6 separate regions of the Homo sapiens genome follow, and all the other regions are linked to region 3. The links are contacts of gene promoters, found by promoter capture Hi-C in blood cells and fetal thymus (Javierre and others, 2016). All regions are on one chromosome and are shown on one strand. The core of a region is centred on a gene start or on the middle of the fragment in contact, and the rest is flanking DNA. Distances in the headings are between cores, read along the strand shown. Region 1 has its middle 8.5 kb from the start of SNORA50D. Region 2 overlaps SLC30A5 (solute carrier family 30 member 5). Region 3 holds the start of MARVELD2 (MARVEL domain containing 2). Region 4 has its middle 28 kb from the start of SNORA50D. Region 5 has its middle 13 kb from the start of LINC02198. Region 6 has its middle 20 kb from the start of SLC30A5.

Region 1 (3,541 bases), core at 775-3,274, 260 kb after region 3:
TAATAACAAATGAACAAAAATATTACCTTAGCCACTATGGGGAGAATATATGGGGTAAGGGGAGGATGAAGGAGAGGTGGGAGGAGAAGAGAAGCAAGGGGGCCAGAAAGAGGCTATTGCAAGAGACCAGGAAAGATGATGGCTTGGATGGACTATTAGAGGTGGACAGAAAGGGATGGGCCAGCATATGTTATGGAAGTGGAGTTGCTAGGTCTTAATGGTTTGCATGCTTGAGTGAGAGAAATAGGAATCAAGGATGACTCCTGGGTTTTGGCTTGAGTAACTGAAATAGAAAAGACCAAGAGAGGACCACCTTTTAGAGGGTAGCAGGTTTTGGATAGGATATTATGAATTCTGAGGCCAGGCATGGTGGCTCACGCCTATAATCCCAGCACTTTGGGAGGCCGAGGTGGGTGGATCACCTGAGGTCAGGAGTTCGAGACCAGCCTGGCCAACATGGTGAAACTCCATCTCTACTAAAAAAACAAAAATTAGCCAGGCGTGGTGGTGGGCGCCTGTAATCCCAGGTACTTGGGAGGCTGAGGCAAGAGAATCGCTTGAATCTGGGAGGCAGAGGTTGCAGTGAGCTGAGATCGTGCCACTGCATTCCAGCCTGGGTGACAGAGTGAGACTCCCTCTCAAAAAAAAAAAAAAAAGAAAGAAAGAATTCTGCTGTATTTGGAACGCTTAGAGATATACAGGACCCAGCCAGGGCAACATAGTGAGACCTCATCTCTACAAAAAACTCTTTAAAAAATTAGCCTGGTGTGGAGGCATGCACCTGTGATGCTAGCTACTTGGGAAGCTGAGGCAGGAGGATCATTTGAGCTAAGGTGGTTGGGGCTGCAGTGAGCCATGATCACACCACTGTACTCCAGCCTGAGCGACAGAGTGAGACCCTGTCTCAAAAAAAAGATATACAAGAGGCGAGGTCTACTAGTCTACTAGACAGAGGTCAGGATGGGAGATATAATCCCTTTTTGCTGTAGAGGGCCTTTTATGCCTGACACAGATGAGATCATCTAGGGAAGGAACATACAGAAGAGTAGATGCCCAGAAGCAAGGTCTGGGCCTTCCATATTTAAAGATGGAGCGGAGGAAGAAAAGCCATCTAAGAATATTGGGCAAGAACACCAGAGAGGCAGGAGAACTGATTGTGGTATCTCAGAAAAGAGAAGTCAGTGTTTCACAGAGGGAGTAGTGATCTAACATGACAGACTAATACACACGTATCTTGGTTACTTCCTCAAGCTCTGCCAAAACAATGGTTTTTAAAAGATGCATGATGGCCAGGCACGGTGGCTCACACCTGTAATCCCAGAACTTTGGGAGGCTGTGGAGGATCACTTGAGCCCAAAGGTTTGAGACCTAGGCAACATAGTGAGACCCTGTTTCAAAAAAAAAATTAGCCGAGCATGGTGGTGGGCGCCTGTAGTCCCAGCTATTCAGGAGGCTGATGCGGGAGGATTACTTGAGCCTGGGAGGTTGAGGCTGCAGTGAGCTATGATCATGCCACTGTACCCCAGCCTGGGTGACAGAGTGAGACCCTGTCTCAAAAAAAAAAAACCGAAAAAACAAAAACAACAAAAAAGAATTGGTTGTTGATATTTTTAGCTGGATGAAAATATTTTTAAAATATAAAAAAGAATTTAAAAAAGAAAAGAATTGGTTGATTCCATCCTGCTCAGCTGAGTGCAGTAAGAGCACAACCTCTCCTTGGTCCTGGCAGACGACTAGAGGTTTATGTTCTGGAGTGGCTGAACTAAAGGGGTTCTGGATTTCAGGAGACCAGGCAAGCTGAGAGGGGCTTTAAGTAAAATTGTGCATACCAAATGGTAAGACCTCCAGTCGCCTTCTCCTACCCAGTCCCCAAAAGGCTGGCAGCTGGACTTATACCCTTCTAAGTGAAGTAAGAGAATGGTTTCTGGGGAATGGATCAGCCCAACAGAAAAAGTTCTAAAAATATTGATGGTTAGGAAAGGTCCCCATGAAATGACTGGGCCACCGCTTGGTTACCCTTATACTGAAGCTCACCACTTGACATGCTTGCACACTGACACAGAGCTTCTAATACATATATATGGAGAGAGAGAGAGAGAGAGAGAGAGAGGATCTTGCTATACTGCCCAGGTTAGTCTTAAACTCCTGGGTTTAAGTGATGCTCCTGTCTTAGCCTCCTGAATAGCTGGGATTACAGGCATGAGTTACTATGCTTGGCCTAATCTATATGTATGTATATCTTAGCCTCTCAAATAGCTGGGATTACAGGCACAAGTCAGTATACCTGGCCTAATCTATATATACAGATATATATAGATCTACAGCATTACTGGGCTTGGGGTGTCCCCTGGAGAGATAAAGAGAGAGAGGCAGACAGAGTCTCACTCTCTGGCCCAAGCTAGAGTGCAGAGGTGCGAACATGGCTTCTTTGCAGCCTCGACCTGCCGGTCTCAAGCCATCCTCTCACCTCAGCCCCCCAAGTAGCTTGGACTACAGGCAAGCACTACCACACCCCACTCATTTTTGTATTTTTTGTAGAGATGGTGTTTCACCATGTTGCCCAGGCTGGTCTCAAATTCCTGAGCTCAAGTGATCTACCTGCCTTGGCCTCCCAAAGTGCTGAGATTACAGGTGTGAGCCACTATGCCTGGCCAATATGTGTGTTTTTTTTTTTTTTGAGATGGAGTCTTGCTCTGTTGCCTAGGCTGGAGTGCAGTGGGCACAATCTCAGCTCACTGCAAGCTCTGCCTTCCGGGTTCATGCCATTCTCCTGCCTCAGCCTCCCAAGTAGCTGGGACTACAGGCTCCCGCCACCACGCCCAGCTAATTTTTTTGTATTTTTAGTGGAGATGGGGTTTCACTGTGTTAGCCAGGATAGTCTCCATCTCCTGACCTCATGATCCCATGATCTGCCCACCTCAGCCTCCCAAAGTGCTGGGATTACAGGTGTGAGCCTGGCCTGTTTTTTTTTTTTTTTTTTTTAGACAGGGTCTTACTCTATCACACAGGCTGGAGTGCAGTGGTACAGTCATGGCTCACTGCAGCCTTGACCTCCTGGGCTCAAGCAGTCCTCCCATCTCAGCCTCCCAAGTAGGTGGGACTATAGGCGTGAGTCACCACATCTAACTTTTTAATTTTTTGTAGAGATGAGTTCTCAATATGTTTCCCAGGCTGCTTTGGAACTCTTAGGTTCAAGCAATCCTGCCTCAGCTTCCCGATGTGCTGGGGTTACAGGTGTGAACCACCATACCCAGCCTTAATCAATATATTATTATTTTTTGAGACCGAGTCTCACTCTGTTGACCAGGCAATAGTGTGATCTTTGGGCTCACTGCAACCTCTGCCTCCTGGGTTCAAGCAATCCTCCTGCCTCAGCCTCTTGAGTAGCTGGGACTACAGGAGCCTGCCACCACGCCTGGCTGATTTTTGTATTTTCGTAGAGATGGGTTTTCACCATGTTGGCCAGGCTGGTCTCGAACTCCTGACCTCGTGATCCACCCGCTTCAGCCTCCCAAAGTGCTGGGATTACAGGTATGAGCTG
Region 2 (3,650 bases), core at 156-2,655, 300 kb after region 3:
GGCAGTAAGATATCAAAGAGATATAAACTAATGATAACATTGATTATCTCTTTGCTAACATGGCTGGGCATATTACTATGTACAAATTGGTACTGTTTACAGAATCAGCCTTCCTAAATGCTACTTTACTTCTGGTTGAAAAGCCCACGTAGCTAAAGAATAACTAGTAGGAACTTATTTTACTCTACAATATGCAAGGAATAGAGAATATTCTAGATACTACTCCTCTAGAGAAAAATAATCCAGAGGGCACGGTAAAACCAGCAAAGTCATTTCTAAGATCTAGTAAAGTACAAAGTACTTAAAAAGCTGATAAAATTTATGTTCTCATTCCAGGGAAAATTTTTTTTTTTTTTTCAGACAGATCTCGCTGTCGCCCAGGCTGGAGTACAGTGGCGTGAACACAGCTCACTGCAGCCTCCAATTCCTGGGCTCAAGTGATCCTCTTGCCTCAGCCTACCAAATAGCTGGGACCACAGGCATGTGCCACCATGCCTGGTTAATTTTTTATTTGTAGAGACCAGGTCTAGCCATGTTGTTCAGGCTGAGGAAAAAGGTTTTCATAAAAGAAAATTATAGAAAGGACATATTAGCTCGGTTTATGTAAATATTTCAGAATGGTAGCTTCAAGAGCAATCTAAATAGCATTACTATACATTCCTTTTTTTTTTTTGAGGAGAGTCTCTGTTGCCCAGGCTGGAGTGCAATGGCACGATCTCGGCTCACTGCAACCTCCATCTCCCGGGTTCAAGTGATTCTCCTGCCTCAGCCTCCTGAGTAGCTGGGATTACAGGTGCACATCACCATGCTTGGCTAATTTTTGCATTTTTAGTACAGACGGGTTTCACCATGTTGGTCAGGGTGGTCTTGATCTCTTGACCTCGTGATCCACCCGCCTCGGTCTCCCAAAGTCCTAGGATTACAGGCATGAGCCACTGTGCCTGGCTAAACAGCATTACTATACATTCTATATTTACAAATTTACAGGTATAACATGTCTTGTATGATACATATACTTGTAGAATACCTATTATATATAGATACATTAAGTGTATTATATATACCTATAATGGAAGTATAATACAATACTTCTATTAAAGTTTACAATGCAAAGTGAGGATACTCTTCATTCTATGATTACCACTATAATGGATAAATTCTGTTAGTGTGGTATTACAACAAAATTCAGTACACTACACATGAGAAAAACCATGTACTTTTAAATTTCTTAAGTTTTCACTGAGTTAGGATATGGCAACATCAACAACAATCAAATACAGAGAACATAACTTAATCTTTTTGTTAACAAAGAAGGCAACTGAGAATTTTGTAATGCTTCAGTCTCATAATTAAGAAAAAAAGGCCAGGCGTGGTGGCTCACGCCTGTAATCCCAGCACTTTGGGAGGCCGAGGCGGGTGGATCATGAGGTCAGGAGTTCAAGACCAGCCTGACCAATATGGTGAAACCCTGTCTCTACTAAAAGTACAAAAATTAGGCCAGGCGCAGTGGCAGGTGCCTGTAATTCCAGCTACTCAGGAGGCTGAGGCAGGAGAATTGCTTGAACCTGGGCAGCAGAGGTTGCAGTGAGCTGAGATTGTGCCACTGCACACCAGCCTGGGTGACAGAGTGAAACTCTGTCTCAAAAAAAAAAAAAAAGAAAAAGAAAAAAAAAGTCCGGGCGTGGTGGTTCACACCTGTAATCTCAGCACTTTGGGAGGCCAAGGCGGACAGATCACAAGGTCAGGAGTTCAACACCAGCCTGGCCAACATAGTGAAACCTTGTCTCTACTAAAAATACAAAAATTAGCCAAGTGTAGTGGCATGTGCCTGTAATCTCAGCTACTCGGGAGGCTGAAGCAGGAGAATTGCTTGAACCTGGGAGGTGGAGGTTGCAGTGAGCCAAGATGGTGCCACTGCACTCCAGCCTGGGCAACCCAGTGAGACTCCATCTCAAAAAAAAAAAAAAGAAAAAACAATCATCAAGTCCTGGACTGATGCCCTGATCCATTTCTCACACTAATGAGAACACTCTCACTTCTAGTTACTTAAGGAGGAAAACTTTTTTTTTAAATGTTTTCAAGTCATTTTTATTTCTTTTGTGAGTTGTCATTCCCAGTTTTTTGCTGATTTCCTGCCAAGGATCTTAAGCATTTTTTAAACTGAAATGGGTGATTTATACTTTGAAAGGAATGTAAAACTTATTTCTGGCAATTTTTGTTGTTAGTTTTTTGTATACACACTGATTTCTGTTATACGTTAAGTTTATAATCATTATGAAGCCAAATATAGTGAGTTTTCCCTTTGTGATTTTTTCCACTGCTTTTATGCTCAGAATTTTCTCCATCTACGTATTTTATTCTATGTTTTTACAAATGTCTATTTTGTAAACTCACAAAGCTCTTCAATCCACTTGAAATTTATTTTGGAGTACTCTATTAGTGAGGGGGAAGGATTAAATAGTGGCCCATGCTTTAATACTAATGACCCAGTTTGAAATCTACAGGCAGAGTATTCTTTTACTCTGCTCTACTTGGCATGTTACTTTGTTCACTTCATTACTTCATTCATCTCCCTTCATTACTTTGCTTGAAAGTCCCTTTCAGAATAGGGACTATTATACCTTATTTGTCTTTATCTATCCTTTCCTTTATGTCTAGGAAAATGCACCATGCACAGGAAGTGTGGGAGATCAGTCACAGTGGTGGGAGAAATTATAGGAATAGAAGCAAACCTTCTTGGAAGGCTGGGGGTTTTGCAAGTTTTGAAGGATATTTTGGCTGAAGGCAGCCAGATTCTCTTATCAGAAGCCTAAAAGCTTAAGGCGTAGATACAAGGGAGTGTAGAGGAGTTTATCTAAATAGCTCGTTTACTCATGTTGTCCTAAAACCGACCTTTGATCATTTGCGCTCAAGACTGCTCTCTATGTAGGGGGTCAGCAATGTTATTTACCCACAAAGCGTGTTGATTCAAGGCCTTTGTCATTAAATCTATACTGAATAAATGCCCGCAGTGCCAGCTTGTCAGGGCCGCAGCTGCTGACTCTTTACAGCACCCTCCTTAGGGTCTGTAAGCGGCCTGGTTCCCTAGCCCACTCCTTCACTAAATACCTGTGTCTGAGTGCATTTGTTGTTCAGCCAGGGTCTGCAAGTAGGACCCAGCAAGGAAGTGTTTAATTTGGTAAAACAGAAACACTATATAGTTCTAACAGTTTGGAATTGTAGATTGGTAACTCATTTAACAAAAGGATAATACTTGAATCACTTAGGATGAATAGGAGTGCTTAGGTGGCAAAATGTTGGATAAATGTTCATCATAATTTAAATTTAACAAGTTTTTAGTTATTTTTCAAAAATGATTTACAGGGTTAAGAATGAGTAGGGGGTTTGGGGGAAAGGTGCATGAGTACAACATGAAAGAGATCATTGTGGTGATGCATCAGTTCTATATCTTGCTTGTAATGATGGTTACACAAATCTACACATGACAAAATTTCATAGACCTACATGCATACATACATACATACACACACACACGATCGTATGTAAAATTGGTAAAATCTGAGTAAGGTCTATGGATTGCACCAATGTCAATTTCCTGTTTTTTTTTTTAATTTTTGATTTTAATTTTTGTGGGTACATAGTAGGTATAT
Region 3 (3,787 bases), core at 370-2,869:
ATTTTTCAAACATAATAAAAAGTAGAAAGAATAGCATTATGAACCCTTGTGTACCCACATCCAGCTTCTACACTTATCGATTTATGGCCAAACTTGTTTCATTTATACTCCCCATACTATTTCCTCTGCCAATAGAGTCCTCTGAAGTAAACCCCAGACATCTGATCATTTTATCTATCTATACCTCATTCTCCACCCCTCCAGCTTAGCCTTGGGGAGCAGCAGACTGAAGAGTGTTTCAGATGCGTTAAAAATCCAGGTAGAGACGTTAAGAGGGCAAGCAAGGCACACAGGGTATGTACAGACTGGAGACAAGGGAATGCGGTGGAAACCCAGGGTCTTCTAATAGGGCACTCCGACCTTAGAGGATTAACTGTGATGGCCCCAGCAGGGTGCCCAATGCAAAGCGGCTCTGTATATTATAACAATCAGTTATTTTTGTACCTTTCTCTTTCTTTCTCTAAAAAAGTGTAAGTTCTAGAAATGCTATTACGACTCTAGTTTTTGAAACACATTCCTAAGAAATGTAGAAGCAAAAGCACAACAAATGATTTTAGCAAGTTTTACACAGCATTTACAGGATACGCTATGCTTAATTCAACTCACTGGTAAAAATACGATTCACTGTAATGGATTTAACTCTTCACCTGTGAAGTGGCTTATTTGAATCAAACCACCCTATCCATTTTTAAAGAAAAAACAAGCAATTATTAAAGAGTTGTGGAAAAGCAAGATAATGTGATTTTTAGAAGGGAATGGTTAGCTGTATTTCATTACATCTTAAATATCTGGATACCCCTAATGTCTTTCAAGATGTCACTGAGAGTTCGTTCTGGTCCCGCAGGTCGCGGCAGCGTGTGTCTTTGTCCTGCTCAGGCCCCGGACCCTTACTCCACTCTTGGACACTCATCTTGGAAAGCCGCGGCAATGGCAGGAGAAATGGCTGCCCCAGCAAAGTGTCACAGGAATCATGCCTGGTCACCTTTACACAAACAGAACCACCGGTTTACCTGGCTTAAAAGTTTTGCTGGACCCAAGAAACGGGTAGATTTCGGATACTTCTGCGCTTCCGAGGGGTCGGGAAAGGCTCTGCGGTTCTAACTAACCCACGACTGCCCGGGGGTACCGAGCATTTTAGCTGTGGGGTCTCCCCCGCGCCAGCCTCTGGGCGCCCGGTCCCACAAATCTCATTGTGTCCTCGGTTCTGCCCGCGCCGGCTAGGCGTTCGTCTTCGCGTTTCTGGCTGAAACCCACTGTCTTTGGAGATTCCGACCCAACGAGGCCGAAACTAAGCCGGGAGACCTCCCAGGTAAGGAGCACCGAGATCGCCCCGAGGTGCGCGCCCCGCCCCGCGCCCGGAAGGACGGCGGCTCGGCCGCACCTGCGTCCGCAGAGCGAAACCTGGCGGGACGCGGGCCTCCCCGGATCCCTGGCTCCGGCCTCCCCCGCGGGCTATGGCAGGCTGAGCGCCGAGCGCGGGCAGCCGTCCGTCGCAGCACACCTGGGCCGGGGGCCGCCGGGCCCTCCTCTCCCGGTCACGTGGCCCCACCCCGGTCCCACTTACCTGCGCAGCCGCCAGGAAGAGCGCGCACGCTGCCCAGGACTCTGAAACCGGTATCGGGCTCCCGGGGTGGGGGCGGGGCCGGGACGGGACGAGCCCAGCTTTCCCCGCCCGGCTTTGCCCCGCCCGGATCTGTCGGCCCGACAACCGCTCTGGGCCCAGGCTGCTCGGTGCCACCAGCCGGCACGTCGCGGCAATGACCACACACTGGGCTCTTTTGGAAAGAGTTTACAGTTCTCATCGCAACGTTGCCATCCTCTTCCCTATCTTTTGAAAAGTTTGACACTGGGGGAGGGAGATTGGTGCACTGTGCTTAAGGACCCATGGCAGCGAGTGCGTGCTAGATAATGTTAAAAGACAGGAGAAACAAAATTAAATTCAACATTTTAATTGTGATATAACTTATGTAAATACTTTCCAAAAAGTATCTAAGATATTCCACTGTACAACACATCAAAACTATCTGAGAAGCGGGAGACAATAAAGTGTAAATAAGGCACACAGTTTACACTCGTAATTGCATCCTAAACTGTTGAATAGTTGATATTTACAACCCCCCAATAACGTTTTTGCATCCTGAATTAGTCCTTCACATCTTGATATTTGGCATAATGTTCAAACACACTTTATACACACTGACCGCTCCTTAAACCACTCACAGATTTAATAAATACCGAAAAAATTAAGAGATTTGAAGGCTTGATCTTCTATTTACTTCAAGATGACAGAAGAGTAGGTTTCTTGTGATGAAATACTACAAGAATGAAGAATTAACAAACTGTTGTGTAATTCATCAGAAAAGCATATTAACTCTGCTGAAGTACCACTGAATGAAACAAAAATGAAGCTGTGAAGTAGCAATCTGATTAGCAGGCTGGCTTCTATGTCCCATCACTCTCGTAGTCTTCTATTATTATGTTTTCTTCCATGTCTCCTTGGGCTGAAAAGGGCTGGGGCTGGCTAGCAGGCAGTTCACTGGCACTATTCTGACTCAAAGGAAGAGACCAGGTTTCCGGCACAGTGGCTTGAGTGGGTTCACCCAGAGATTCCTCTGCAGAATGTCCTCCATTAAGCTGGGCTTCATCTCCGCTGTCAGGGTCTATCATTCCATGTTCCCTGTCAGTCAGGGCTTCCATTTTCAATCTGTCAGATTCACAGTGCAGGCATTAATAAGAACCAAAGGAGAAGATTTTTAAATTACACCATGAGTGTGATGATTATGAAGCCATCTTTCATTTACCTACATTGTGCTGTTTAGCTAGTCCCTTTAACTATAAAAACAAAACTACAAGGTAAATGACAAACTGAATAAGTTCCTACAACTTAAAATACAAAAAGGAGCTGAACACGATGGCTCATGCCTGTACTATCTGCACTGTGGGAGGCCAAGGCAGGCAGATCACTTGAGGCCAGGAGTTCAAGACCAGCCTGGCCAACATGGCAAAAACCCATCTCTATTGAAAATAGAAAAATTAGCCAGGCGTGGTGGCACGCATCTGTAATCCCAGCTACTCAGGAGGCTGAGGCAGGAGAATTGTTTGAACCCAGGAGGCAGAAGCTGCAGTGAGCCAAGCTCGTGCCACTGAACTCCAGCCTGTACGACAGAGCAAGACTCTGTCTCCAAACAAAAAACAAACAAACAAAAAAACCAAACCAAACCACAACAACAAAAACACCTAAAAATAAAAAGAAATAATGTCTTCAGTAAAGAATTTTTCTTTTTTCTTTTTTTTCATTGAGACTGTCTTTCTCTATCGCCCAGGCAGGAGTGCAGTGGTGCAATCTCAGTTTACTGCAACCTCTGCCTCCCAGGTTCAAGCGATTCTCCTGCCTCAGCCTCCCAAGTAGCTGGGATTACAGGCACATGCCATCATGCCCAACTAATTTGTATTTTTAGTAGAGATGGGGTTTCACCATGTTGGCCAGGGTAATCTTGAACTCCCGAACTCAGGTGATCCATCTGCCTCCGCCTCCCAAAGTGCGGGGATTACAAGTGTGAGCCACCACACCCAGCCTTCAGTAAAGAATTTTTACAAATTAAAAAGGAAAAAATGAAATAGAAAAATGGGCACAAACATGGACAACTTATAAAACAAATACAAATGGTTCCTAAATTGTTAAATCTAATTTGTAATTTTAAAAATGAAAATTAACATAATGAGCTACTACTGTCATCTTTTTTTTTTTTTGAGACAGTCTTGCTCTGTCACCCAGGCTACAGGGCAG
Region 4 (3,711 bases), core at 1,173-3,672, 280 kb after region 3:
CTCACTGCAACCTCCACCTCCCGTGTTCAAGCGATTCTCCTGCCTCATTCCCCCTCCCCTCTTCCCCCAACCCACCCCGAGTAGCTATCCCCTAGATCCTGTAATCCTGCCATCATGTCTGGCTAATTTTTGTATTTTTAGTGGAGACGGGGTTTCACCATGTTGGCCAGGCTGCTCTTGAACTCCTCACCTCAGGTGATCCGCCCACCTCGGCCTTCCGTAGTGCTGGGATTACAGGCATGAGTCGCCATGCTGGGCCAGAGAGTAATAGATCTTTAAACTGGTATTCAAATACCCTCAAATCCCTGCTCCTAAGCTTCCTAACTGTAGGCCTATTTATCCCATGTCTGAAGGCCAAGATTATGCAAAACTGAAGTGCCAATGGGTTTACATGGTTCACTCCAGGTGGAATGAATCCCTTTACCATCATACTTCCATGGTAAGTTTACCAGTCCCCTAGGTCTATCAAATGCCACTTCCTCTTTGAAGCCTTGCCCTCTTCCCTTCAGCTAAAATTAACCTCTGCCTGGCTTAATGGCTCATTCCTGTAATCCCAGCTTTTTGGGAGGCTGAGGTGGGAGGATCGCGGGAGGCTGAGGTGGGAGGATCGCGGGAGGCTGAGGTGGGAGGATCGCTGGAGCCCAGGAGTTTGAGACCAATCTGGACAACATAGAACCTGTTTCAACAAAAAATAAAAAATTAGCCAGGCGTGGTGGCATGCACCTGTAGTCCCAGCTACGATAGGGAGGCTGAGGTGGGAGGATCACTTGAGCCCAAGAGTTCAAGGCTGCAGTGAGCCATAATGATGCCACTGTACTCCAGCCTGGCAACAGAGCAAGACCCAACTCATAAAATAAAAGTAACCTCCACATTCTGAAGTTTGCTATTTGCTTGTGGCATCAAATCTCTCTAATCTCTCAGTTACTTATGTCTTCTCTTCCCTACTGTAACAAGCATATTGAAGGTAGGGTTTGTATCTGATTCATCTTTCAAGTTTACAAATAAGGGGCCATGAATATGTTACTTAGTTCAAGTCACCATCCTCTCTCATTTCAGCTTCAGCAAAAGCCTTCCAACTGTCCCCTAGATTCCACTCTTGCTCTCCTACCCTGATTCTTTTGAAACACATTGGCTCAAGTCAGTACCTTATTTGGAGCCATCCACAGACTTTCCAAGTTCTCAACATGCTGTCTGTCTAAGTTTGCTGCGATCACCGGCCTCTTGCTTCTTTTTTTTTTAATCATGCTAAGCACCTCCTGTCTCAAATGTCCTTGCATTTCATTTGATGTTCTCTCAGTCTAGAATAGTAGCTGTTAGTAGAAGATGGTTTAGAATCCTGGAGATTGTTTGCCTCCTGACTTCAATGCAGTGCTGAAGTCTTCTTCCATAGAAATCCTCTTCAACCACTCTCTGGCACCTCTATAACTCTGTCCTTGAACGCTGCTTTAGTTGAGTCTCAACCCTGAATCCAGAGTGCCTAGTTGAGAAAATTGGCTTTCCCACTTATAACGTGTATGATTTGGGGCAGGTTAATTAACCTTTTCCTGCCTCAGTTTCTGCATCAGTAAAATGGAAATAATAATTACACATATTTATTGTTTAGAACAGTGTCCATCTGGAACATGGCAAAAGTTCAGTAAGTTATTGCTTTTCTTCACAGCACTTACTACATTTTATTACATACTGGTCTTGTCTTCTACATTAGAAGTAAGCTCCATTAGGGCAGGACTTTGTATTACTGAGGACTTTATCCCTAGCTCCTAGTGCAGTGTATTTAGTATAAAGGCCTTCAGTATTTGTTATGAGTTAATTTACTGAATGTTTAAAACGCCATAAATTGCTATAACAGAAGAAAAGAATTATAATTAAAAATAAAACACAGGCCGGGCACGGTGGCTGATGCCTGTAATCCCACACTTTGGGAGGCCGAGGTGGGCGGATGGATCACAAGGTCGAGGTCGAGACCATCCTGGCCAACATGGTGAAACTCTGTCTCTACTAAAAAAAAAATACAAAAATTAGCTGGGCGTAGTGGCGTGCACCTGTAGTCCCAGCTACTCAGGAGGCTGAGGCAGGAGAATCGTTTGAACCCAGGAGGTGGAGGTTACAGTGAGCCAGATTGCACCACTGCACTCAAGCCTGGCGACAGAGCGAGACTCTAAAAACTAATAAATAAAAACATAAATAAAACACAAAAAGCCATAAATGATTGTATTATTTTCTTTCTTTTTTTTTTTTTTTTGAGACGGAGTCTCACTCTGTCACCCAGGCTGGAGTGCAGTGGCACGATCTCGGCTCACTGCAACCTCCGCCTCCCGGGTTCACACCATTCTCCTGCCTCAGCCTCCCGAGGAGCTGGGACTACAGGCGCCCGCCACCACGCCCCGCTAATTTTTTGTATTTTTAGTAGAGATGGGGTTTCACCGTGTTAGCCAGGATGGCTATAATCCTCATACTTTGGGAAGAAGAGGTGGGAGGATCACTTGAGCCCAGGAGTTCCGAGACTTGCATGGGCAACATGGTGAGACCCTGTCTCTACAAACAATAAATTAGCTGGGCATGGTAATGTGCACCTGCAGTCCTACCTACTGGAGAGGCTGAGGTGGGAGGATTGCTTGAGCTCAGGAGTTCAAGGCTGCAGTGAGCAATGATCATGTCATTGCACTCCAGCCTGGGCAACAGAGTGAGACCTTGTCTCTGAAAAAAAAATCCAAACTCCCCTCCCTCAAAACAGGCTTCTATTTTGGGCATTATTTTTAACTTATTTATATGTTAAACATCTAATTAATCTCTTGAGATGCTAATTTATAGAAAAAAAGAGACAAGTTAATGACGGCTACCTTTGAAGTCAGGCTTAAAAAGTAACAATTCTTCGTATTTAGCCTTTTTCTTTTTTGTTTTTGAGATGGAGTCTTGCTCTGTCACCCAGGCTAGAGTGCAGTGGTGCTATCTCGGCTGCCTGCCAGCTCCGCCTCCCAGGTTAACGCCATTCTCCTGCCTTAGCCTGCCGAGTAGCTGGGACTACAGGCGCCTGCCACCACATCTGGCTAATTTTTTGCATTTTTAGTAGAGACAGGGTTTCACCATGTTAGCCAGGATGGTCTCGATCTCCTGACCTCGTGATCCGCCCACCTCGGCCTCCCAAAGTGCTGGGATTACAGGCGTGAGCCACCGCACCCGGCCTATTTAGCCTTTTTCAACTTCCACTGCATTTTCACATACATTATACCTTTTGTTCCCATATCCTGTGCTGTAAATTTGAGCAGGTTTTATATAGTTTATATATGAGGAAAAAAAAAAGATACCTCAGAAAGGCTGATTTGCCTAAAGTTGCATGAATTTTTTTTTTTTTTTTGAGATAAAATCTTTCTGTGTCACCCAGGCTGGAGAGCAGTGGTGCCATCATGGCTCACTGCAGCCTTGGCCTCCTAGGTTCAAGCAATCCTCCTGCCTCAGCCTCCCAAGAGGTATGTGCCACCATGCCCCAGCTAATTTTTAAAAATTTTTGTAGAGATGGAATCTTGCTATGTTGCTCAGGCTGTTCTCAAACTCCTGGGCTCAAGCTATCCTTTTGCTTTAGCCTCCCAAAGTGCCAGGATTTCAGGCAAGAGACACTGCACCTGGCCTAGTTGCATGATTTGCATGAGCTGAAATACAGTACCCTGGTGCTTTCAATATTAGAGTTTCCATACTTTATAATTGTACCTCCCC
Region 5 (3,892 bases), core at 568-3,067, 370 kb after region 3:
CTGCAATTCCCCTGTCTTGATAAATTCGCTCTGTCTAGGCAGCGGGAAAGGTGAACCCATTGGGCCGTTCCAGGGTCTCCCAGTACACAGCTTCATCACAACATAAATGAATGCGGCTTGAGTAGGGGCTTGTATGTAGAATTCGAACCCACAAAGTTGAAAATCTTTCCTTTTCAATAGGCTCTGCAATTTGCCTGATAGCAGATTACAAGGACCACTAAGAACACTACTTCCAACCCAACATTATAAGCTACTTAACAGACTAAATATGTTATGAACATAATAAATTTAAAATAAACATATGAGAATCTGTATGACAAATGCATAACATTCCTTTGAAAGTTTTTTATTTTGTGATTTGGGGTGGGTGGGTGTTCACTTACACCACTGATGTTGGAAATGTGAGAACGTTTTGAAACTACAGAAACGATGTAGTTGGAGGACTAATTAGCCAGGTGTAACTCTTCCTTCTGTGAGACAAACAACTCAGAGAGGTTTCCACAAGTGCTTATTAACTGCTCTAAATACTTCTGTTCTTTCCAGAGAACAACAGAAAGATCAAGTCTAGAAAGTTGGTATAGAACTGATGGAAAATATGAGTTCAGATCAGATTAGTACAGAGGACATTTTAGAAAACCAAGTAAAACAACAGGAGTCAATCAGATATGTAACTGAGCAAGGCTGCTAGGATGTGTACTTACACAAGGTGCAAAGATGAAATTACTATTGAAAATCTGGTCATGGAAAGAATGCTGGTTTTTTGTTGTTGTTGCTGTTGTTGTTTGGGGTTTGTTACTGTTTTGCATTGTGAGTATGGGCCTTTTCCCCCCCAGCTCAACTCACTAACATTTCTTGTCAGTTAGACTAGACTCAAGTATTTAAAAAAGGCAGCCTTGGCCGGTGCAATGGCTCACGTCTGTAATCCCAGCACTTTGGGAGGCTGAGGCAGGCATATCACTTGAGGTCAGGAGTTTGAGACCAGCCTGGCCAACATGCAACATGGTGAAACCCCGTCTTTAATAAAAATACAAAAATTGGCTGTGAGTGGTGGCACGTGCCTGTAATCTCAACTACTTGGGAGGCTGAGGGAGGAGAATTGCTTGAACCTGGAAGGCGGAGGTTGCAGTGAGCTGAGATCGCGCCACTGCACTCCAGCCTGGGCAACAAGAGTGAAACCTCCGTTAAAAACAAACAAACAAAAAGGCCAGTCTTGCTTTCTGGGTGGACTAATGGCATTTAGCCAAAATGAAAAAAAAAATCATTAAGTTGAAAAACCCTGCGGGACAGGTTATGCCAAGAGGGTGAATTGGACAGCTTTACAGATGCCTCATGTTAGGAAATTTTCCTGGATTTGAGTCTTCAATGTGGGAGCAGAGTTACCTGAATATATGGAGTTGATGGAGACATTCCTTGATGAGAAGCAGAAATTCCCCAGGGACCTTGTAAATCTGAAGCAGATAAAGGGAAATGAAGAAACCAAGTTTTACAACTTTGATGAGTGGCAAAATTTGTCAATAAGAGCTAGATATTAAGTAATTAGCTTTTAGGAAGCAAAGTGTATTGGACTTGGCTATGATATGAAGGAATTCATTTAATAAATCAAAACGAAAACAAAAACAACAAAAACAAAGAAGCGAAGCATGAATCTCCTAATCAGCAGAAAAGGGAGGACAGCCGGAGACAATCGTATTCCTGATCGATACTGATGTAAACTTGTGCTGGAACAGTAAGTTCTTTGTTTTGTCTTGTTTTTATTTATTATTATTTTTTAAATCAAGGGAGATAACGCTTGTAGAGCCCCACACACTCAGAGCCCTGAGATAAAGGGTACACGCAATGGAGGCAGGGCATCCGGGATGTGAAGGGGGAGTTGTTTCGCGTTTGACTTACTTTGCTGTCCGAGAACGACAAATACATTGAAGTGCCACAACTTGGATAGGAATAAGACGGAAGGACAGAGAAGGATGACAAACTAAATCACACAAAGGCTCATGCGCCACAAGAACTATGAAACCTAGGTGTTCTGAATCTCTGGGTTTAGATTTCCGATTAAAAAAAATCAAACATTCTAGCTGTTACTTGTTATTAGACACTCGGTAGGGCACAGGAGAATCAAGTAAGGGCAGCCATTTGCTGAGTCTCATCTTATACCACAGCGCCACCTATTGGACGCTGATAAAAATACATCCGGAAGTACCTAAAACCTATTGAAGTCCTGTCTACACAATTTTGTAAGTAACTATAAATTCTAGAATCATAGGATTTCAGAGTGATGGGGCTTTAAAAGTCATTGGAGTCAAGTTTGTGTCCAACATTTGAATCACTTTTATAACATATTTGATTAGTGTTTAATTCTGCTCCAACATCTTCAGTGAATGAAAACACACCCTCACTAAGCAGCTCATTCTATTAATATGAATACTTTCACACACTATTACTTTTCACTCAGTGCTTCACCACTCCTTTCTGCAGCACCCGGACAGAACCTAGTGCTAGGTCTTTCCAGGGTTCTTGGGAGTGAATTGGTTTCACTTTCATTGGAATTCTTCTTTGCAGACCCATTGACGGTAGGCTCTGCTAAATCAGTTACTATGCACTTTCTGTGTTTCAAATTATTGCTCATATCTCCTGTCTTCTATTTCTCCTCTCTCATTCTTTTTTTTTTGAGTTTTACTTTTTGTCAAAAATTAATCTATTATCATTTTGATAGGTTTGGGAGGACAGAAGAAATAAAACAAGAAAGAAATAAACCCCACCATGTTTAATTAGGGGCCTAGTCATGTTTTTCTGATTCTGTTCTTTTTTTTTTGAGACGGAGTTTCCACTCTTGTTGCCCAGGCTGGAGTGCAATGGTGCAATCTCGGCTCACCACAACCTCCGCCTCCCGGGTTCAAGCGATTCTCCTGCCTCAGCCTCCCGAGTAGCCGGGATTAAAGGCATGCGCCACCATGCCCGGCTAATTTTTTTTTTTGTATTTTTAGTAGAGACGGGGTTTCTCCATGTTGGTCAGGCGGTCTTGAACTCCCGTCCTCAGGTGATCCGCCCACCTCGGCCTCTCAAAGTGCTGGGATTACAGGTGTGAGCCACCGCGCCTGGACCTGATTCTGTTCTTATGCACGAAAAAAATGTAAGCGTAGGGCTTTACATTTATTTCAGTTAAAATTTTTATTAAGTTTGGCTTATCGTTAGAGCCTTTGGATCTTCACTCTGCCATATTAAATATATTGGCTACCTTTCCCAGCAGTCAGAGAAGTGCATTAGCAAGCCAACTGTACACTCAACTATTTACTCAATGAACAGGACAAGTCTGCAAACAGAATTCCTTTACACTAGAAACTCTGGGCTGACATTGATTCATAATTAGCACCTATCTTTGTGATCATCTGGGCCACATTCTTCTGTCTTGTTCACAAGGTAAAAGTCTCTGTCAAATGCTGAGTTCAAATGGTGAAGCTGCGTATTGACAGCTTCTTCTGATTTGTCAGTCTGGCAGAGTTTGGATAAAAACAGAAGTCCTGTTAATTCATTAGTCATGACTTTCCCTATCTGAATCTTATGCACAATTAAATACTCCCCTTTCTTCTCTCCATGTTCAAGGTGGTGTTAGACAACCTGCCTGAGAATTGCACTATTGATTCCTGCCCCAGTTTCTAGAATTCTTTGTGATAACGAACAGCAGCTCATTTTGTCACCAATCTCTTCTAGGTATAGGCTAGGATGTAGTTTGTTGGGGCCAGGAGGTTTGCACCGATGTAGAGAACCCAGATGCTTTCTTATGATTTTTCCACCAGTTTGGATTTTTAGATCTTTTATCTTAATCCTTGTTGTATTATTTTCTGGCCAGTAATCTTTCTCCTTGGCAGAAATGAAAGATAGAAAATAGGAGATAAAG
Region 6 (3,659 bases), core at 105-2,604, 340 kb after region 3:
AATCCAGGCACTAGAGATGGCGTGTGTGTGTGTGTGTGTGTGTGTGAGAGAGAGAGAGACAGAGAGAGACAGAGAGGAGAGAGGACAGGTATTTAGGGGGCTGGGGTGAGGCTGCACAGGAAGCCGAGGGGGTCAGAGGAAGGGAGAAGGCGGGGGGTCAGAGGAAGGGAGAGGGCGTAGGAGGAGGAGTGTGTGGTGTGGCCCCAGGAGCACCCTTAGACCACTGTGCTGAGGGTGGAGTCATCCTCTGGGTGCACTGGCAACAGGGGCCGCTTGAGGGTGCGCCAGGTTTCATCTCGGTTCTACCATACATAATGCACCAGGTCAGCCACCCCTCAACGGCAGGGGCCACCTTGGTGCTCCTCTGGGCCCTGCCCCGACCCACACAGCTCTTCCTCCCCTGCCAGCGGCAGGAGCTCCTGCCCCACCGAGGTCTGGTCGGGTTCTGGGGTCACACACGATGCCTGTCCTGGTGCCCGGCGCCAGCCTCACCAGCCTGAGCACTCCCTGGAGGGCACAGTCCCAGTTTCACGGGTTGGCGGATTGGTTCACTTGGATCTGCAGCCCCACGAAGGCCTCCACGGGCACCCAGGCCAGCTTTTCAGAGAGGTGGAGGTGGTGCACCATGCACGCCAGGGCCGAGAAGGCTGCCCCTAAGAGGCGGGTGAAGATATTAGGGGACAGGTGCAGCTCCTCCAGGACAGGCGGGTGCTGGAAGGCACCGCGGGCACTGACGCCAGCTGGTTGGCATCCAGGCCTGTGGGTGTAGCTGGGATGCGGCGGGGCAACAGAGCTTAGGCCTGCCTGGCTGCAGCCAAGCGTCAGTTCACCGGCTTCCTCTGCCACATGGCAGCCCTGTGGAGGTGCCCGGGGGCTGGGCACGGTACCCCGGTGCCTGTCACCAGCGGGAGGGATGGGAGGTGACAGGCTGCTGGTGGGAGGATGGCCACAGATGGGCAGGGTCCCGGAGTGGAGTAGGACCCCTGTAGGCGGCAGGGCCTTCTCCTGTGCTGCTGCCCTCTCCCGGAAAGTAGCCTCCCTGCTGCTGGGCTCTGGAGATCCACTGCCTCCTTCACAAGTCCTGTTTGCTCCTGGCTGCTGGAAGTTGCCGGCTGGGGCCGAACAGTGTTGGGTTTTCTGGCATGTGGTTCCGGGCCCAGGTGTGGAATACCTGAGCCATGGCTTGGCCAGTCAATGCCAAGAGAGGGCAGATCCTGGACCTGGATGAAATCTGCCATGGGGAAACCAGGCCCCAATTCCAATTCCTGCCTCTGGCTCCCTTCCCAAAGCCTCGGCACTGCCATCTTCCTTCACCCTTCGAGTTTGGGACTTCCTCCCAGAACCCCTCTTCCTTGCCCAGAGCCTGGCTGGGCAGAAGGATCCCGGCTTGGCAGGCCTGAGGTGCAAAATAGGGTGGGGCCCATCTCACATCCACTGCCTGGCAGCAACCTGTATCCCCCACCTCCATCCATCCCTCTGCTGTCCTTGGCCTTTCTAGCATGCCCTGTGGCACTTTCTTCCATGGTGAGTGGACTTCCCTTGTCCTTTTCCTTGGAAAACATGTCTCTCTTCATGGGACCTCATTTCCTGGCTTCTCACAGTACTCAGCCCCTTTCTATTCTTCATCCTAATGTAAACATGTATGACGAAAAGACTTGAGGAACTAGACTTTTCAAGCTCCTTCTGGCTCTTTAATACTAAAATTTCATATGTAATTAAAAAATAGAACCCAAGGGCTGGGCGTGGTGACTCACTCCTGTAATCCCAGCACTTTGGGAGGCTGAGGCAGGCGGATCACGAGGACAGGAGTTCGAGACCAGCCTGGCCAAGAGGCCAGCCTGGCCAATATGGTGAAACCCTGTCTCTACTAAAAATACAAAAATTAGCTGGGCATGGTGGCGTGTGCCTGTAGTCCCAGCTATCCAGGAGGCTGAGGCAGGAGAATCGCTTGAACCCAAGAGGCAGAGGTTGCAGTGAGCTGAGATCTCACCACTGCACTCCAGCCTGGGCAACAGAGCAAGACTCCATCTCAAAAAAAAAAAAAAGAAAAAAAAATTGAACCTAAGATTCATAGGCCTTAGTATATTTAGTGAATAGCTCTTATTTACCTTTATAAGTTCTCTTTGTGCCTGACTTATTTCTCATTACCTTCATGCTCTTATTGTATTCTGATCTTGAATTAAATAGATGCCGGGGATTTATAAAATAGAGTTATAAGAAATATTTTACAGCTATTAAAGTGGGCATAATTAAAAACCTTAATGCAGTTTCAAGAATACTGTAGAGAACTCCTATGTTCCCTCCACCTGATTCCCTAATCGTTAGTAACGTACCATATCTGCCTTATTATTCTTTTTCTCTCTGTATAGATAAAGATTATTTCTTTTTCCAGAACCATCTGAGAATAAGTTACAGACATGATGCCAATCACCCCTAAATACTTTAGTGTCTGTTTCATAAAAATAAGGATACTCTTCTATGTAATCACAGAATGCCCATGAAAATCAGGAAATTATCATTGATACCATAGCACCTTCTTTTTTTTTTTTTTTTTTTAGATGGAGTTTCACTCTTGTTGCCCAGGCTGGAGTGCAATGGCACGATCTCAGCTCACTGCAACCTCCTTCTCCCAGGTTCAAGCAATTCTCCTGCCTCAGCCTCCCAAGTAGCTGGGATTACAGGTGCCTGCCACCATGCCTGGCTAATTTTTTGTATTTTTAGTAGAGACTGGGTTTCACCATGTTGGCCAGGCTGGTCTCAAACTTCTGACCTCAGGTGATCCACCTGCCTCGGCCTGCCAAAGTGCTGGGATTACAGGCATGAGCCACCGTGCTCGGCCACCATAGCACCTTCTAATCCACAAACTTCATTCAAATTTTACTGATTTTTCCCAATAAAGTTATTTATAGATCCAGGATCCAATACAGGATCACGTGTTGCATTTAATTGCCGTGTCTCATTTGTTTCCTTCTATCTGCAACAGTTCCTAGTCTCTTCTTTCTTTCATGACCTGGAATTTTGAAGAGGACAGGTCGATTATTTTGCAGAATGTCCATCAGATTGTGTTTGATGTTTCCCCATGATTAGATTTAGGATAATCATTTTGGCAGAAATACTGCAGAAGTGATGTCGTGTTCTTTTTTTTTTTTGAGACGGAGTCCCACACTGTTGCCCAGGCTAGAGTGCAGTGGCGCGATCTCAGCTCACTGCAACCTCCGTCTCCTGGGTTCAAGTGATTCTCCTGTCTCAGCCTCCCGAGTAGATGGGATTACAGGCTTGTGTCACCATGCTCAGCTAATTTTTGTATTTTTAGTAGAGACGAGGTTTCACCAGTTGGCCAGGCTGGTCTCTAACTCCTGACCTCAAGTGATCCACCTGCCTCGGCCTCCCGAAGTGCTGGGATTACAGGCATGAGCCACCAAGCCCAGCCAGCTGTGTTCTTCTTAATGCATCATCTCAGAAGGCATATGATGTTGATTTGTCTCATCACTGGTGAAATTAACTGTCATCATTTGGTACGATGATGTCTGCCAGATTTTGCAATGTAAAGTTAGTAAGTATTTTTGTCTTGAGATACTTTGAGACTATGTAAAAATATTGTTACTGATAACGCATTTATTTTATTTATTTATTTTTTATTTTTTTGAGATGGAGTTTCA

What was found. The method cuts DNA at HindIII sites, captures the fragments that hold promoters and counts their contacts. A CHiCAGO score of 5 or more calls a contact.
Region 1: a fragment that was not itself captured here is called in contact with the fragment with the promoter of MARVELD2 in region 3 in 2 of 17 cell types (neutrophils and M1 macrophages); the score reaches 8.2 in neutrophils.
Region 2: a contact is called between a fragment that was not itself captured here and the fragment with the promoter of MARVELD2 in region 3, in 7 of 17 cell types (monocytes, erythroblasts, fetal thymus and 4 more). The highest score is 8.9, in monocytes.
Region 4: a fragment that was not itself captured here is called in contact with the fragment with the promoter of MARVELD2 in region 3 in 11 of 17 cell types (neutrophils, naive CD8 T cells, total CD4 T cells and 8 more); the score reaches 11.9 in neutrophils.
Region 5: a contact is called between a fragment that was not itself captured here and the fragment with the promoter of MARVELD2 in region 3, in 11 of 17 cell types (neutrophils, M0 macrophages, activated CD4 T cells and 8 more). The highest score is 11.7, in neutrophils.
Region 6: a contact is called between a fragment that was not itself captured here and the fragment with the promoter of MARVELD2 in region 3, in 14 of 17 cell types (neutrophils, M2 macrophages, erythroblasts and 11 more). The highest score is 17.9, in neutrophils.

What each region holds. Positions count from the first base shown.
Region 1 is chr5:69,150,556-69,154,096 of GRCh38, reverse strand. No RefSeq gene overlaps it. Among named protein-coding and RNA genes, the nearest start is that of SNORA50D, 8.5 kb to the left of the region's middle. The HindIII fragment of the contact is 5,938 bases long and covers 1-3,541 here.
Region 2 is chr5:69,109,315-69,112,964 of GRCh38, reverse strand. All of the region lies in intron 5 of SLC30A5 (solute carrier family 30 member 5), which reads right to left. Among named protein-coding and RNA genes, the nearest start is that of SLC30A5, 17 kb to the right of the region's middle. The HindIII fragment of the contact is 2,827 bases long and covers 1-2,818 here.
Region 3 is chr5:69,412,948-69,416,734 of GRCh38, reverse strand. MARVELD2 (MARVEL domain containing 2) reads right to left here and starts at 1,619. Exons shown (of 7, transcript NM_001038603.3): 1 at 1,565-1,619. It overlaps RAD17 (RAD17 checkpoint clamp loader component), which reads right to left. Exons shown (of 19, transcript NM_133338.3): 19 at 1,934-2,704. The coding sequence ends at 2,443. RefSeq lists enhancers at 76-958, 959-1,842. The HindIII fragment of the contact is 19,290 bases long and covers 1-3,787 here.
Region 4 is chr5:69,131,245-69,134,955 of GRCh38, reverse strand. No RefSeq gene overlaps it. Among named protein-coding and RNA genes, the nearest start is that of SNORA50D, 28 kb to the left of the region's middle. The HindIII fragment of the contact is 4,208 bases long and covers 319-3,711 here.
Region 5 is chr5:69,041,277-69,045,168 of GRCh38, reverse strand. No RefSeq gene overlaps it. Among named protein-coding and RNA genes, the nearest start is that of LINC02198, 13 kb to the right of the region's middle. The HindIII fragment of the contact is 5,020 bases long and covers 1-3,892 here.
Region 6 is chr5:69,072,237-69,075,895 of GRCh38, reverse strand. It overlaps the pseudogene LOC100130639. Among named protein-coding and RNA genes, the nearest start is that of SLC30A5, 20 kb to the left of the region's middle. RefSeq lists a silencer at 680-848. The HindIII fragment of the contact is 6,468 bases long and covers 1-3,659 here.